Linked DNA regions of Homo sapiens: regions 2 and 3 are each linked to region 1. The links are contacts of gene promoters, found by promoter capture Hi-C in human tissues and cell types (Jung and others, 2019). All regions are on one chromosome and are shown on one strand. Each heading gives the region's core, a stretch centred on a gene start or on the middle of the fragment in contact. The rest is flanking DNA. Distances are from core to core; before and after follow the strand shown.

Region 1 (4,944 bases), core at 1,380-3,879:
TATTTTGACTCATTTCTTTGGATTGCAGGTTCACAAATTTCAATGCCCCCAAATTTGGAATTGACAGGCTCTGTTAAAATACATAGTCCAGCCCCTCTTCTGCCTAGAGATTTCTAACTTCATGTGTGTGATAATCCAAGAATTGTGTTTCAATAGTATCCATATTGGAAATTAGAAAAATTCCATTTCAGTTAAAAAGAGTGTCCCAGAAGTACCTTGTGCTTTCCCTTTCCATCAGAATGTTTACTAGTTTCACCATAATAAATAATTTTATTGCTAAACATTCTTTAAATGTGTTAGCCCCTGTGCTGTTTTACTTGAATTGTTTTATTTAGTCTGTTCAAACACTGTAAGTTACATACTATTATTATTGTATTTCACAAGTGAGAAGGTTGAGGGTGAGAACTTAAGTAGCTTCTCCAAGATCACACAGCTATATTGTATCTGAGCCCAGAAACCATCAGGTTATTGTGCACAGGCCTATGTGACACGAAAGGTCAGTCATGTGAATAGTGAAAAGGGACTAACTTTTAAAAGACCAGTTCCAGTCCCATGATCCTATCCTATCATCTACATTTAGCTTAGTATACTACAGGCAGAAATGAATTGTATTTCTTCATTACTAAGGGCTATTTAGGGACATATTGCTTTGATATGTTGCAACTTAATACACACATGGTGATAGTCATACATTCATATGTTCCTTAAATATTGGTTGTTGATTTCTGGTGTTATAAATTTGAGGATGTTTTCAATACTTTGCTGTTACTCTCTATTCTTCCCCTAAATAAAGTAAACTGAACTGCCTCAAACCCTCTATGTGGAGGCAAACTGAAACTAATTTATTTATAACTGGTTAGAAAACCCAGTTGATAGAGATCTGTCAGCCAAGCTAGCTGAGGCTTAAGCATGGGTGCCTTCCCCTACCCAACAAGCGCCAAGGGTTGGGCCCACTCAGCGCTTGCAGAAGTCAAGCGCTGTTTCTCCTTAAGCAGAAACTTATCTTTCCTACAGCTCACCCCTTCCCTTGAGCCCAAAGTATCAACTGACTTCAACTGAAAAATTAATTCCTGCTACTGCCCTAGTCGGAAATAGTGTGAAGGTGACATAGGAACTTTACAGTAGTTTCCCTTGAGGGTATGTCCCGATAACTGCCCTATTCTCTAGTCCGTTAGTAACTCTAATAACGGAAAGTTATGACTGTGAAAGATTGCTTTGTGAGGGAAGGAAGGTGAGGCAACCAGAGACTTTCATTATCTCTTAAATATCTATCCAGTAGAAGTGTTTCCTTTTTGGTATCCTATAAACTACATTAACCTTAGAAAATCTTCTGAGCATTAGTGAACAAAGAACATCAAAAAATAAACTGTTTTTTTTAAAAAAAACAGGATGGCCCAAAAAACAAACAAAAAATTAGGATGAACATATAAACATTTGTCAGTTTATTTTTACATTGGAGTGGAAGAGAAATTTGAAAATATAAACATATTTTTGGATTCTGTACTTCCAGCTCCAGGAACTCAAAGTGTGAAATGATAATGCCCAGTGATGCAAAAAAAAAGTTCAGGTTGATATTCAGCAGAACGGAGGGAAAAAATGGATGACTAATGAGAATCTTTGAGTCTTCGGACATGGAAAAACTAGATGAACTAAAAATAAAAATAGACAACATTAATGGAGCATTAATTTGTGCCAGGCACTTTTCTAAATGTTCTTCGAATGCACAATCACATTTATGCCCTACCTACAAGGTAGGTACAATTATTAGTCTTATACAGATAAGGAAAATGAGCAGTTAAGTCATTTGCCAAAGTCATCCAGCTACTAATTGTGGACAGGGAACCAAGCTGTCAGGCCCCAGAGCCCAAGTTCCCATCTACTACACTGTAAGAAAGAGATCTAACATGGTCACTTTCTTGGAGAGTGGGAAGCAAACCTGGGATACAAATTCACTGAATGGATCACCCACTCATTGAATGGATCTTTAACAGGCAGATCACATCTGCCTGTTACACAGCTATTTAGGCCCCTTGCGGCCTCCAAGCTCATTTATAGAAGTAAATTAGCTGTGCTTTATTACGCAAATACTTCACAATGACTGGGTCTCAGGCAGGAAGAATTTATATATTTTGGAGGGTCAGAGGCCTAGGCCCTTCCTTCCAGGTTCTCACTTTTTTTAATGAGAGAGAAAAAAGCCAAACAAGGTTACAGAAACTAATGGTATAGTAAAGATGTACATGAAACAAATGAGCGCTTTCAATACATCCATGACAATACATTCGGTACAATACATAACAGTGTGTTTGAAACTTCACTTGGAGGTAACCACGTAGGTCCAAGCCTAACTCCCTACAACTCTGAGGCCTGGCCACTGGCTTCCTAGCATCCTTGGACAGGCCCCGGTGAAAACCCAGACACCTTGACTTAAACACTGGTTTAGTTTGTAGTCTGGTAAGGCGGCGGGGCACTCACCAGAGGCCTCTGCCCTGGGGCTGTCCTCCGGACTATAGATGACGCCCGTGGGAAAAGCAGTCGGAGCAGAAGCACCCTCGGAACCAAAGCGCCCGCCCCGCCTACTCCTCGGCAGCGTTTCCTGGAGGACCAGGGGGCGGGGCCTGCCCGGCTGGCCTGGACGAACGGGAAGCCGGGAGCTCGGCCACGGGTGGCGAGGCTGCGGTGAGGCCTGGTCTCCGGCTGCCAGACCATGCTGAGTGGAGCACGCTGCAGGCTCGCCTCAGCGCTGCGGGGAACGCGCGCGCCGCCGTCCGCGGTCGCCCGTAGGTGCCTGCACGCGTCGGGGTCGCGGCCTTTGGCCGACCGGGGCAAGAAGACTGAGGAGCCGCCCCGCGACTTCGATCCGGCGCTGCTGGAGTTCCTGGTGTGCCCGCTCTCCAAGAAGCCGCTCAGGTAACTCGCTGGCCTTGGCCCTTCCTTTGCAGCCTCCCGGTGGGCGGAAAGGGAGCGGTGGACCGCGGCCTCTTGCAGCCACTGGGGCCTTGTAGGTCGGTCAGGTACTCTCCGCTGCCACATTCTGGACTCTGTCCTCGCCGGGCGCACAGCGGGCAGGACGGGGGAGACCGGAGGCCAGGGGAGCTGCGTCCCACATCTCCCAGAACGCAACGCCAGCCTGCGGGAATGGCTCGAAGCGTTTTAGGGTTCGCGACCGGCTGCGCATTGCAATCACCCGGGGACCGTTTTAAAAATGCCGATTCCCCGACAGCCCCCAAGACGGGCAGACTTGGAATGCTCGCGGGATGGGACCTGAACATTTGTATTTTCTTTTCCTTTTTTTTTTTCCTTTTAAGAGACAGGGTGCCCCCTACGTTGCCCAGACTGGCCTAGAACTCCCGCCTCAGCCTCCTCAGGAGTCGAGAGACAGGCGCCGCCCCCACGCCCAGCTTATCTGTGTTCTTAAACGGTCCCTAAATGATTTCTAATGTACCACCAGGTTTATGAACCACTGCGATTCAGGACAAGTCCGAAGCCTTCCGGTTTTTAAGCCAAGATAATGAAAAGTATTGTTGTACCCTCCAGATTCTTGTGAAAGTGTCTTGTACAACTGGTGCCTGACAATCTTAAGCAATTCAGCTGTGTTTGCTGCCCAGTGGCTCTTAGTTGTGGCCTAGCAGGTTTCGTAGAAGCCTCTTTAACTAGTTTTTGGGAAGACAGCTCTACAGTTTCCAAGCTACCAAAATTGAATATTGACAACACTAACGCTAGTATTACAAATCGCATAAACACCAAAATGTTATCAGTGGTTATCTTTGAATGGTAGATTGCTAGCAATTTTTCGTATTTCTTTTTCCCGTAATAAACATATTATTCAATTTTCTCGAACCTTGAAATTATCATTTGATTTACGTTTATAACTAGCTCACTGCAGACTTAGTGCTTTCGAAAGTTTCTTCATTTCTGCCCTCTCACCTTTTCCAGTGATTTCCTTCTAATGGATTAGTTAAGTTTCTCTACTTAGCATTTATTCTAAAATGAAGAAGTTGATTTTTCTCTAGTGTTTATTCCAGTAGTAAATTAACAGGGATGGTTTGGGGGTTGACCAAAGTAATGAAGGAATATTTGGATAAGAGAGGGGGATCTTTTCTGACTAGTATGAAAAAAAATTAAGGAATAACTTGTGAATAAGGTGAAAAAGAGAATATGAGAGAAACTACTAAAATGGGAATAATTATAGATTGTAAGAGAATTTTTCTAAGATAAAAGGTTGAATTGGCTATTGTTGCTTTTAGAATTAAAGAAGACTATTCTGGGATTAACTCCGTACCAAAAATTGGATAAATGGTGGTATTTGTTGAAAATCAGGCTCTTCAAGCATTTTATTTTCCCACAACTCATTTTGTTCTTTTTTTTTCCACCTCAGATATGAAGCATCAACAAACGAATTGATTAATGAAGAGTTGGGAATAGCTTATCCAATCATTGATGGGATCCCTAATATGATACCACAGGCAGCTAGGATGACACGTCAAAGTAAGAAGCAAGAAGAAGTGGAGCAGCGCTAGTTCATAATTTAAAAAAATTAAAAAAACGCAACAGCCAACTTTTCTTAATACCATATACCTTTTAAAACACAGTGGCAGGTAATAAGTGGAAGAGAAGAATGTTTCTGTCTCTTCCTACGTTGACTGTTCTTATTCCACTGGTTTCTTTAGCAGGACTGTTCTACTCAGCCTCTGTGGAAGAAAACTTCCCACAGGGCTGCACTAGCACAGCCAGCCTTTGCTTTTACAGCCTGCTCTTGCCTATTACCATACCAGTGTATGTATTCTTCCACCTTTGGACTTGGATGGGTATTAAACTCTTCAGGCATAATTGATGCAACTAGAGTCAATATGCTGTATATATTAATGATAGCTCTTGGGCATCGATCTCTGAAAGCTCAAATGGATGGAATTTAGTTTGCGGGAAAGAGGCTTTGCTTTGCGCATA
Region 2 (4,944 bases), core at 1,037-3,536, 610 kb before region 1:
GAGTCCCAATTGTAGCAATTAGGATTTTTTGCCATGTTTAACACCCAAATTTTGATTTCTTTTCTAAATCTGTGAACAGTAGTCTTATATTGCCCCTGTACATAAATTTTGTCTTAATAACCTTGTAAAATTTGTAATCCCTCTAGGGCTAGAATCTTGCTTTTTAACTCTGTAGTATAGTTAGACTCCATTAGAGACTCCGTAAGTCACATAAAGGGGCAGGTAGAAAAAAAAAAAACAGCTTTACTTTTATTTTTAATTTTTTTAGAGACAAGGTCTCACTCTGTCACCCAGGCTGGAGTGCAGTAGGTGTGATCATAGCTCATTGCAGCCTTGATCAAGCAATCCTCCTACCTCTACCTCCCAAGTAGGTAGGACTACAGGTGCATGTCACCACACCTGGCTAATTTTTAAAAATTGTTTTTGTAGAGACGGGGTCTCACTGTGTTGCCTAGGCTGGTCTCAAACTCCTGGCCTCCCAAACTGTTGGCCTCCCAAAGTGTTGGGATTACAGGTATGAGCCACTGGGCCCTGTCCAGATGGCTTTTAGAATGGGATTCTGCATTGGCAAGAATTGGATTCAGCTACTTTGAGCTCCAAAGTGGGAGCAAAATATTTCAGTTTCATCACAAAATGTAACACCCAGGAAGTCAAATGAGACTGAACTGAGGCATATCAGAAGTAGCCTGGAGTAGCCTTTCTCAGTCTTTTTACCCTGGAGAAATTCTTGAAATAATTTTCCAGTATCAGGAAATCCTTACATAAATGTTCTTAATATCTGCTAATCACAGAATATTACCGTGATCATAAGCAATAGGTATAATAATCCAATAATTGTCAATCCTTTTTTGAGAAACAAATTATCTTTTTCTATGGATACCTTATTAGCTTAGTTTTTCTGTGTGCTTCTCCTTCACCATAAAAGACATCAACCCTAACATAAATTGGTACAATAGGTAAAGAAAACTTAGCTTCCCTTTTATTTTTATTTACTACTTGATTTTTAAACCATATCCAATGGTTAGTCCAAGTTATCCAAGAAACCAAGATTGGATTTAAACAGGTAAGGATTTTATTAAGGGAAATACCTTAGAGGGAAAACACAAGGGAGACTGGAGCCCTGGAAGAGCCATCAGACCATGAAGCAGGTAGGACCCCGAGTGAGGGAAGAAGGAAGAAAGGTGGGGTGTTGAGTAGCCTCGACGGCCATGAGGTCTGAGGAAGGGTTAGCAAGGCTATCAGGGAGCCAAAGTCAGCCATCACGGGGGTCTAATGACATGCAGAAATGGCCTGCCATAGCATTCCTCCTGTACTCAGTCACCGGCCAGGAGCAGTCCCTGGGAAGCACGGCCTTAGTACCAACCCCGCAATGGAGTGCGGAGCACGGCAGCGGGGCTGAGCTCCCTACAGGTGGAGGTCTGCAAGCTGCATTCTTATGGCCTCTGCATCCAGAAAGCCTAAAGGTTTGCCGTCAAGTCCTACTCTACAAGTAGCTGAGAAGGTACGCTGTGTGCTATATGGTAGATTAAGGTTTGTTTCCCCTATTTAAAACTAAGGATGACTTTTTCCCCAAACTGTCTTGAAAAAAAAAAGTTGTTTAGCTTACATTTCTTGAAAGTAATATTTTACTTTCTTTTTCATAAGTTATTAAAAAACATATAAGGCAAACAATAAATTTCTGTTAACTAGCAAGTTTAAGCCAAAAACTTATAATTTACTTTTTCTAAAGGTAGGCTTGATTGATTGAATTTGAATAAAATTTACGGTGATGGAGAAGAACAACACACGCTGGGACCTGTAGGGGGAGAGGGGAGTGACAGCATCAGGAAAAACAGCTAATGGGTGCTGGGCCTAATACCTGGGTGACGGGCTGATCTGTGCCGCAAACCATCATGGCACACGTTTACCTATGTAACAAACTTGCACATCCTGCACATGTACCCCAGAACTTAAAATAAAAGTTGATTAAAAAAAAAGGTTATGTTGATTTAGTTAATGTTATTTACAACATGAAAATTAGACAATGCAATTAGTACAACTATTAAAACCATAAGCCACAGAATATTAATAAAAGTATACCCTAAGACACACTTTTTAACAAAGCTTTCAAAAAATTATTTTCTTCCTGAGTAACATGATTAAGCTCAAGTATAAGACTAGCTGTTATGATCATAATAATTTTATATGTGTCGAATTTTTATATCTCCTCTATATACCTATGCATAAAATTTGTTACTTTTGAAACTAGAAATAAAGAACAAAGTAACTTGAAACTTGTGCTATTTTTCTGCTGTACAATAATACAATGCTGGATCAAACTTGAGATAAACACACATGGATGACATTTCAACTAAAATGAGTTGATATTTTTCCTTGCTCATGATGATTGTTAAACAAGTCAAACTTGTTCACATATGTAACGAATTGAAAAAAATGCAGCAGAATGTTTATTGCTTTCCTGTGACTAGCAGGATACTCTTCATTCACAGAAATCCAAAAGTCGTCTAGGAGCAGATGAGTAAGCCTTATCTTGACTGCATGATCAGATGGCAGCTTACTAAGTTATTTTTCCTCTTTCAAAGTCAGGTTCTCAAACTGTAGAGTAGCAGTAGAAGATTCAGAGAAAAGGTTTTTCACCTTTGTGTTGAAAGAAAGAAAAAATACTGTGCCATTTTGTTCTGCGGTTCTTCAAGGTGGCTTTCTATAAAATTTAACTCTTACTAATATCTTTCCTCATTCTTAAACCCAAGTAGCAGTGGGAAAATTTTAAAATTTGCCATTGCAATATGATTTTTCTAAAAATTCAGATTTATATAAATCAAAGAATCTTGTCACTTGAAATCATGCTACTTTCTCCAAGGTCTTATAGATACTCATTCAACTGGTTCATGTGATGAAAAATATTTGCTAAGTAGTTCATTGCTGTAGCCACCACCTTCTTATTCAAAATACTCAGCAAAAGCTGGCCTACCTTGAAAATACTCATGCACTCCAATCCACCTGTCAGCTAAAGCATACTGTTGCAAATCCTTCCTCTGCTAAGCCACAGATTTCTATATGTAGCAGGAGATGTATGTAATCTTTGTCCAAATAATAACACAATTTTTAAAACATTATGGCATGAATTGGTTTTTATTTAACAAAGCCAACCATTTTGTAGTATCATTCAGAACTTTTATCACTTCATCTACAGGGTTATCTCTCTGTGAAGAAAGCAATATGTTGTGACAACCTCAGATCCAAGAAATTCAACAAACCCAGGCACAAGCAACATGAAGAAAATTATAGCAAGGCACAAATCAAATTTCCCCAAACTAATGATAAAGAGAAGATCCTAGGAACCAGAGAAGAAAGCCTTGTTACATATACAGGAACAAAGGTGAGGATGACTTCAGATTTCTCATCATAAAGAATGCATGTGAGAACTAGAACAAATTATTACAGTTCTGTCCTGGTTAAGAAATGACACGTGTTTTGGAAATTCATGTGTCAAGAGCAAATGATAAAGAACGAGACTCCCAGGTGTCTCGTGATATTCTTCCTTTTATCATTCTTTAATTCCCTAAGTATCCTGTGGTTCCTTGAAGCTAGGCAGAGAGCCTCCTTCAGGTCTTTATATTCCCATTGCCAATATGTGTTCCAAAAAAAAAAAGAACACTACTGCGGGGGGAAGCTGTTACTAGAAAACAAGAAAGACCATTATCATTCCCCTTTACTTTTATGCTACCTGTGGATTTTTATACCCACATTGTAAAATATCTATCAAGTGCAAATACACTTAATAGACATAAGTGGAAGAAGTAGAAAGTTCACATGTATGTTAGATATCCAGTTTATCCCTTACATTTTAATAGTCCTCAATGAATAAGCTAATTCAGATAATGAAATATTTCTTTATAGTTATATAAGGGAATCATAAAGTCATTATCCCAGTTTGATTACGCAAAATGTGAGAAATTACTGCATTGTGTGTTTGTGTGTGTTTATGCAATACTATTTACTATGTGCTAAGCATTGTTCTAAGCACTTTACATATACTAATTCGCTTAATCCACATACCAATCCTGTGAGGCAGGTCTTATGATTCTCCTCATTTTGTAAGTGAGGAAACAGAGACGGAGGGTAAGATCACATGACCAGTGTGTGACAGAATGAGAATTCCAACCCAGGCAGTCAGAATCCACAGTCCATGTTCTTTACCACCTCACTATTTTGCCTTTCCACTACACAGTGTTAAATAGGGACAGAACACTGTGAAAACTAAGTTTAGGATGCTAGCCAAGCAGGAGAAAAACCAAAGTGGCCCTTTGCCAATCAGATGTTGTTTTGCTGCATCTGAAGCAACAAGACTTCTAGACATCTTTCTGTGGGAGTTTTAGTACAATCCCATTTTCCCAGGCTCTGGTTTTGTAACCTCGAAGAGCCAAAGGGAGAAAAATAGATTAGCTAAAAGAATTATATTGTTGCCTTCGCTTTTGTGTTAATATAAGATGTGTGTGTGTGTGTCTTTGTTTTTAACAAAAGTTTAAAAAGTAAATAAATAATTTTGAAAGTAGAAAAAAGCTTATAGAAGAAGGATATAAAGAAAGAAAATATTTTTGTATAACTGTACAGTGTGCTTATGTTTTAAGCTAAGTATTATTACAAAGGAGTCAAAGTTTTTTTAAGTTAAAAAGTTTATAAAGTAAAAAAGTTACAGTAAGCTAAGCTGAATTTATTCTTAGAGAAAAAGAATAAATTTGTTTTATAAATTTAGCGTAGCCTAAGTGTGCAGTGTTTATAAAGTGTACAGTAGTGTACAGTAATGTCCTAGGCCTTCCCATTCACTCACCACTCACTTATCGAATCACCCAGCAACTTCCAATCCTACAAGCTCCATTCATGGGAAGTGTCCTATACAGGTGTACCATTTTTGTTTACCTTTTATATTGTATTTTTACTGTA
Region 3 (4,944 bases), core at 1,447-3,946, 520 kb before region 1:
TATATCACATTTTATTCATTCACTGATAGATCCTTGGGTTGTTTCTGATTTTGATTATTATCAATAATGCTGCTAGGAACATTAATATACAAATCAAGTCTTTCTGTGGATATGGATTTTCATTTCTTTTGGGTAGGTACCTAGGAGTAGAATTATCGGGTTGTGTGGTAATTTTGCATTTAACATTTTAAGAAACTGCCAACTTTTTCCAAAGTGGTTGTACCATTTTATGTTCTCACCAGTGATGAATGAGGGTTCTAGTTTCTCTATATCCTTGCCAACATATAGTATTGTTAGTTTTTTTCTTATAACCATTGTAGTGAGTTAGTAGTGCTATCTCAATTTCTTCATGAGTAATGATATTGGGCATATTTTCATATGCATATTAGCCATTGTATATCTTCTTTGGCTAAATGTGTTTTCATATTTTTTGCCTGTTTCTTAGTTGTGTCATTTTGGTTTTATTGAATTATAAAAGTTCTTTATGTTCTGGATACAAGTCCTTTATTAGATACATGATCCACTGGGTGTGGGGTTTTTGTCCTCTCTTCCAAATCACCAAAGCCGCTAGTTTTCACCGCTGGTTCCCCCTGTAGTAACACTACTGTGCCAACCCAGCCTAGGGCATGGAGGGGTTGGGAATAGGCAAGAGTGCTGCAAACTCCCACTATTCTTAAGTACACTTCATCTCCCATTCATGAATAAATGTTTCTCAATGTAATTTTTATATCTCTGATCAATTTCTAGAGCCCTGAAACTTTTTTTGTTTGGTCTGGTTTTATACATTTTTTTAGGAGAGTATTTGCAGACCTCTTCACTCTACCATCATGGAATTCAGCAATAGGTCTTGACTTGTGTTTATATAGAGAATTTAACTGTTTATAATAACCTTTAATTTTCTTGTTGTGATAGTAACACGTGTCTGGAGTATAAAATGAGGAACTGCAGGTAACTTAAGAGGAGAAAATAAGCATTATTCAAGATTTGACAACCCCCCCAAAAAAAACCACTTAATATATTTGTGTATGTCCTTCTAAAGTTTTTCTGTGATCATATAGACTTATAAAAACAGATTATGCTTGACATGAGTTTTATAGCCTTCTCTCCACCCCACCCCCGATAACAGTATATTCCAAATATCTGGCAGTCCCTTTGTATAAGATATGAGTCCTGCTCACTGTTACTTGCCCTTCCCCTGTGTTCGGAGCCTGGTTGGAGAGAGAATGACCTATGAAGAAGCTCCAGCTTTTGCTGGGCACTGCCAAATTGCCTTCCAGAAATTTGAGCCACTTTAGATCCCACCTATACTTCTTTCCAACATCCGTTTCTCTTTTTTCTTTCTTTTTTTTTACTTAAAAAAATTTATTTTTATTACTCTTTGGTTTTTACTCAACTCTTTGAGTTACTTTTCTTTTCTTTTCGAGATAGGGCCTCACTTTGTCACCCAGACTGGAGTGCAGTGGTGTGAGCATGGCTCACTGCAGCCTCAACTTCCTTGGCTCAAGTGATCCTCCCACCTCAGCCTCCTGAGTACCTGGGATTATAGGCACATGCCTCTACACCCGGCTAATTTTTGTATTTTTTTGCAGAAAAGAGGTTTTGCTATATTGCCCAGGCTGGTCTTGCACTCCTGGGCTCAAGCAGTCTGCCTGTCTTGGCCTCCCAAAGCACTAGGATTACAGGCATGAGCTACTGTGCCCGGCCACTCTTTTCTTTTTTTAAAAAATTTCTATTAGTAGAATGGATAACAAATGGTATCACATTATGATTTTTGCCCGTCTTCGATTACTAGGAATTTCACTACCTTCTGAGAAAATCTATTCCATCAATAGAAGTGACTGTTATTTCTTCTTTATATGTCTTAAAACGTGTCTCCATGTAACTGCCATTTACTTTCTCCTACCGTCTGAACCACGTGGCAGCTCTTTTAAAACCTGAATATGTTCCAACCTCAAATCTTCTCTTTTGAGTATAACTGTTCCAGGTTTTTCATTTCTTCTTCATATTACATGGTTATACTTTTATTTTATTTTTAATTTTTTTGCTGGTCTTTTCATCAAACTTTCCCAGTCATTAATTAATTGGTTAAAATTTGTTCTCTGGTAGTTTGGACAAGGAAGGTTCAGGTGTGCAGTATTCTCTTAGCCTTTGTCTGTTCAAATTGTAGCTTTTATAGTTGAAGGACAGCTTGGCTGATTATTAAATATGGCTCATAATTTTTTTTATTTTTTCTTTTTTTTTTTTTTTGAGATGGAGTTTCGCTCTTGTTGCCCAGGCTGGAGTGCGATGGCGCAATCTTGGCTCACTGCAACCTCCGCCTCCCAGGTTCAAGGGATTCTTGTGCCTCAGCCTCCCGAGTAGCTGGGATTACAGGCATGCGTCACCATGCCCAGCTAATTTTTGTACTATTAGTAGAGACGGGGTTTCTCCATGTTGGTCAGACTGGTCTCAAACTCCCAACCTCAGGTAATCTGCCCGCTTTGGCCTCCCAAAGTGCTAGGATTACAGGCATGAGCCACCACGCCCTGCCTTGGCTCATACTTTCTTTCCATAAATATTTTGTAAGCCTTTTATACTCTGCCAAGGTCAAATATTGCAATCTATAAATTTGAGGCCACTCTTATTTTTCTTTTATTACATAGTGCATGATTTTTGCTTGGCTGTGCAAAAGATTCTTTATTGTTAGTCTAATAATTTCCTTATAATATATCTTTGTGTGGACTGTTCCGGGTTGTGATGTGCCTTTCAATATGTAAACTCAAAGCACTTTTATTTAAACAAAGATTTTGTGAATTATGTCTTTAAATATTCTATTCCATTGTTTGATTTTCTTCATTGGGGATTCCAAAGAGTGGAAATGGGGCATAAAGTGGCATCAGTTAGCTGCTTTCTGTAGCTCTGAAATCATTGTGATTTCTAAAAATGTTTCATTATATCTACTTTCCTCATTTCCTCTCTGCCCCTTACTGAGGTGAACAGTTTCTGTTCTTCTTTGTGTTCTTATAATTCAGTCTTCACTTCTGAAATGTTTTTTCCTTTTCCTTTTCCCCATTTCCTGAGTTCCACCAGTCTCCACTTCACATTCTCCTATTATCTGATCACCTCTTTCCTGAATTTTTTTATTTCTGATTTGTGTTCTTTCATCATTGTGATCAATTCTTTAACTTTTTTTATTGTGATAAAATATACATAACATAAAATTTACTATTTTAACCATTTTAGATATATAATTCTGTAAGATTAAGCATATTCACAATGTTGTGCATCACTACCACTATCCATTTCAAGAACTTTTTATCACCTCCAACATAAACTTTATAACCATAAAACAATAACTTCCTATTTCTCCCACCTCCCAGCCCCTGGTAGCCATTGTCCTTCCCTCTGTCTCTATACATTTGCCTAGCCTAGGTATCTCGTATTAGTGGAACTAGACAATTTTTGTCTTTTTGTGTTTGGTTTATTCACTTTGCATAATGCTTTCAGGGTTCATCCATCTTGTAGCATGTGTCAGAAGTTCATTCCTTTTCAAGCCTGAATAATATTCCATTTTATGTATATTCTACCTTGTATTTATCCTTTCATCTGTTGCGAAACAATTTAGATTGTTTCTACTTTTTGGCTGTCGTGAATAATGCTGCTATGAACATCGTTGAACAAATGTTTGTTTGAGTCCCTGCTTTCAGAGTATGTACCCAGAAGGGGAATCATTGGATAATATAGTAAATCTATGTTTAACTTTTTGAGGAACCATTTAGTTGTTTCCCACTTTGGCTGTTCTACTTTATATTTCCACTGATGATGCACAGGGGTTACAACTTTTCCACCTCTTAACCAATACTTGTTATTTTCTTTCTTTCATTTTTATAATAGCCATCTTAATTGGTGTGAAGCGATATCTCATTGTGGTTTTGATTCTCACTTCCCTAAAGACCAGTGATGTTGAGCATCTTTTAATGTGCTAATTAGCCACATTATGTCTTATTTGGAAAAATGATTATACACGTCCTTTGTTCATTTTCGAACTGGGCTATTTTTTGTTGTTGAATTGTTGCAATTCTTTACATATTTTGAATATGTATTCAGATATATGAATTGCAAATATTTTCCCCTATTCTATAGGATTCTATTCTATGTGTTGTGTCTTTTCACTCTGTTGTTAGTGTCTTTTTTTTTGATATGGTCTCACTTTGTTGCCAAGGCTGGAGTGCAGTGGTGAGATCATGGCTCACTGTAACCTTGACCTCCTGGACTCAAGCAGTCCATCCACCTCAGCCTCCTGAGTAGCTGGGACTCTAGGTGTGTGCCACCATGCCCAGCTTGCTGGCTTGCTTATTGATTGATTGATTGATTGATTGTATTTTGTAGAGACAGGGTCTTGCTGTGTTGCCCAGACTGTCTTGAACTTCTGGACTCAAGCAATCCTCCTGCCTCAGTCTCTCAAAGTGTTGGGATTACAGGCATGAGCCACTGCTCCTGGCCATGGTGTCTTTTGATGCACAAACATTTTTAGTTTTGATGTTCAATTTATCTTTTTGTTGTTGTTGTCTGTGCTTCTATTGTCACATCCTTATTAAAATTTTGTTCTTTTTGTTAGTTTATAGTTTCCGTCTGCTTCTTGGCAGCATTTTTCTGATGAGTTGTTGTAGGAAGATTGTGATGCTTTTTTATACTTAAAAAAATACTGTTTCTATATAAATGCTGTCCATGATCCTTTTTTCCTACTCATCCTGAGTAAGATGAATTTTTGCAGGTTAGTAGCAAGAGTTTCCTATGGGGTATAGTAATAATGGGCCAAAGTAGCCTTTCAGGTTTCACAGCTCAGGAGATTCCCCCCTCTATTGCTACAAAAATGACTGTTTTCTTAATACAGCCCCTCTGTTTGCCCATCTCTCCTTTGCCTCTCAGAAGCTGGCCTGGGTCAAGAGAGCTCTGTTGTCTTTT

Evidence for each region. Contacts are between HindIII fragments. The study calls those that stand out against the background at their distance.
Region 2: a contact is called between a fragment that was not itself captured here and the fragment with the promoter of PIGY in region 1, in 2 of the 25 tissues and cell types used here (IMR-90 fibroblasts and hippocampus).
Region 3: a fragment that was not itself captured here is called in contact with the fragment with the promoter of PIGY in region 1 in 1 of the 25 tissues and cell types used here (spleen).

The regions. Positions count from the first base shown.
Region 1 is chr4:88,521,461-88,526,404 of GRCh38, reverse strand. It overlaps PIGY (phosphatidylinositol glycan anchor biosynthesis class Y), which reads left to right and starts at 2,629. Exons shown (of 2, transcript NM_001042616.3): 1 at 2,629-2,907; 2 at 4,376-4,944. The coding sequence starts at 4,616. The coding sequence ends at 4,831. PYURF (PIGY upstream open reading frame) reads left to right here and starts at 2,629. Exons shown (of 2, transcript NM_032906.5): 1 at 2,629-2,907; 2 at 4,376-4,944. The coding sequence starts at 2,705. The coding sequence ends at 4,517. It overlaps PIGY-DT (PIGY divergent transcript), which reads right to left and starts at 2,595. Exons shown (of 2, transcript NR_134663.1): 1 at 2,473-2,595; 2 at 1,414-1,640. It also overlaps a transcript of HERC3 not described here. RefSeq lists an enhancer at 3,272-3,331. The HindIII fragment of the contact is 23,527 bases long and covers 1-4,944 here.
Region 2 is chr4:89,134,278-89,139,221 of GRCh38, reverse strand. No RefSeq gene overlaps it. Among named protein-coding and RNA genes, the nearest start is that of TIGD2, 25 kb to the right of the region's middle. The HindIII fragment of the contact is 7,650 bases long and covers 1-4,944 here.
Region 3 is chr4:89,043,328-89,048,271 of GRCh38, reverse strand. All of the region lies in intron 1 of FAM13A (family with sequence similarity 13 member A), which reads left to right. Among named protein-coding and RNA genes, the nearest start is that of FAM13A, 11 kb to the left of the region's middle. The HindIII fragment of the contact is 6,600 bases long and covers 1-4,944 here.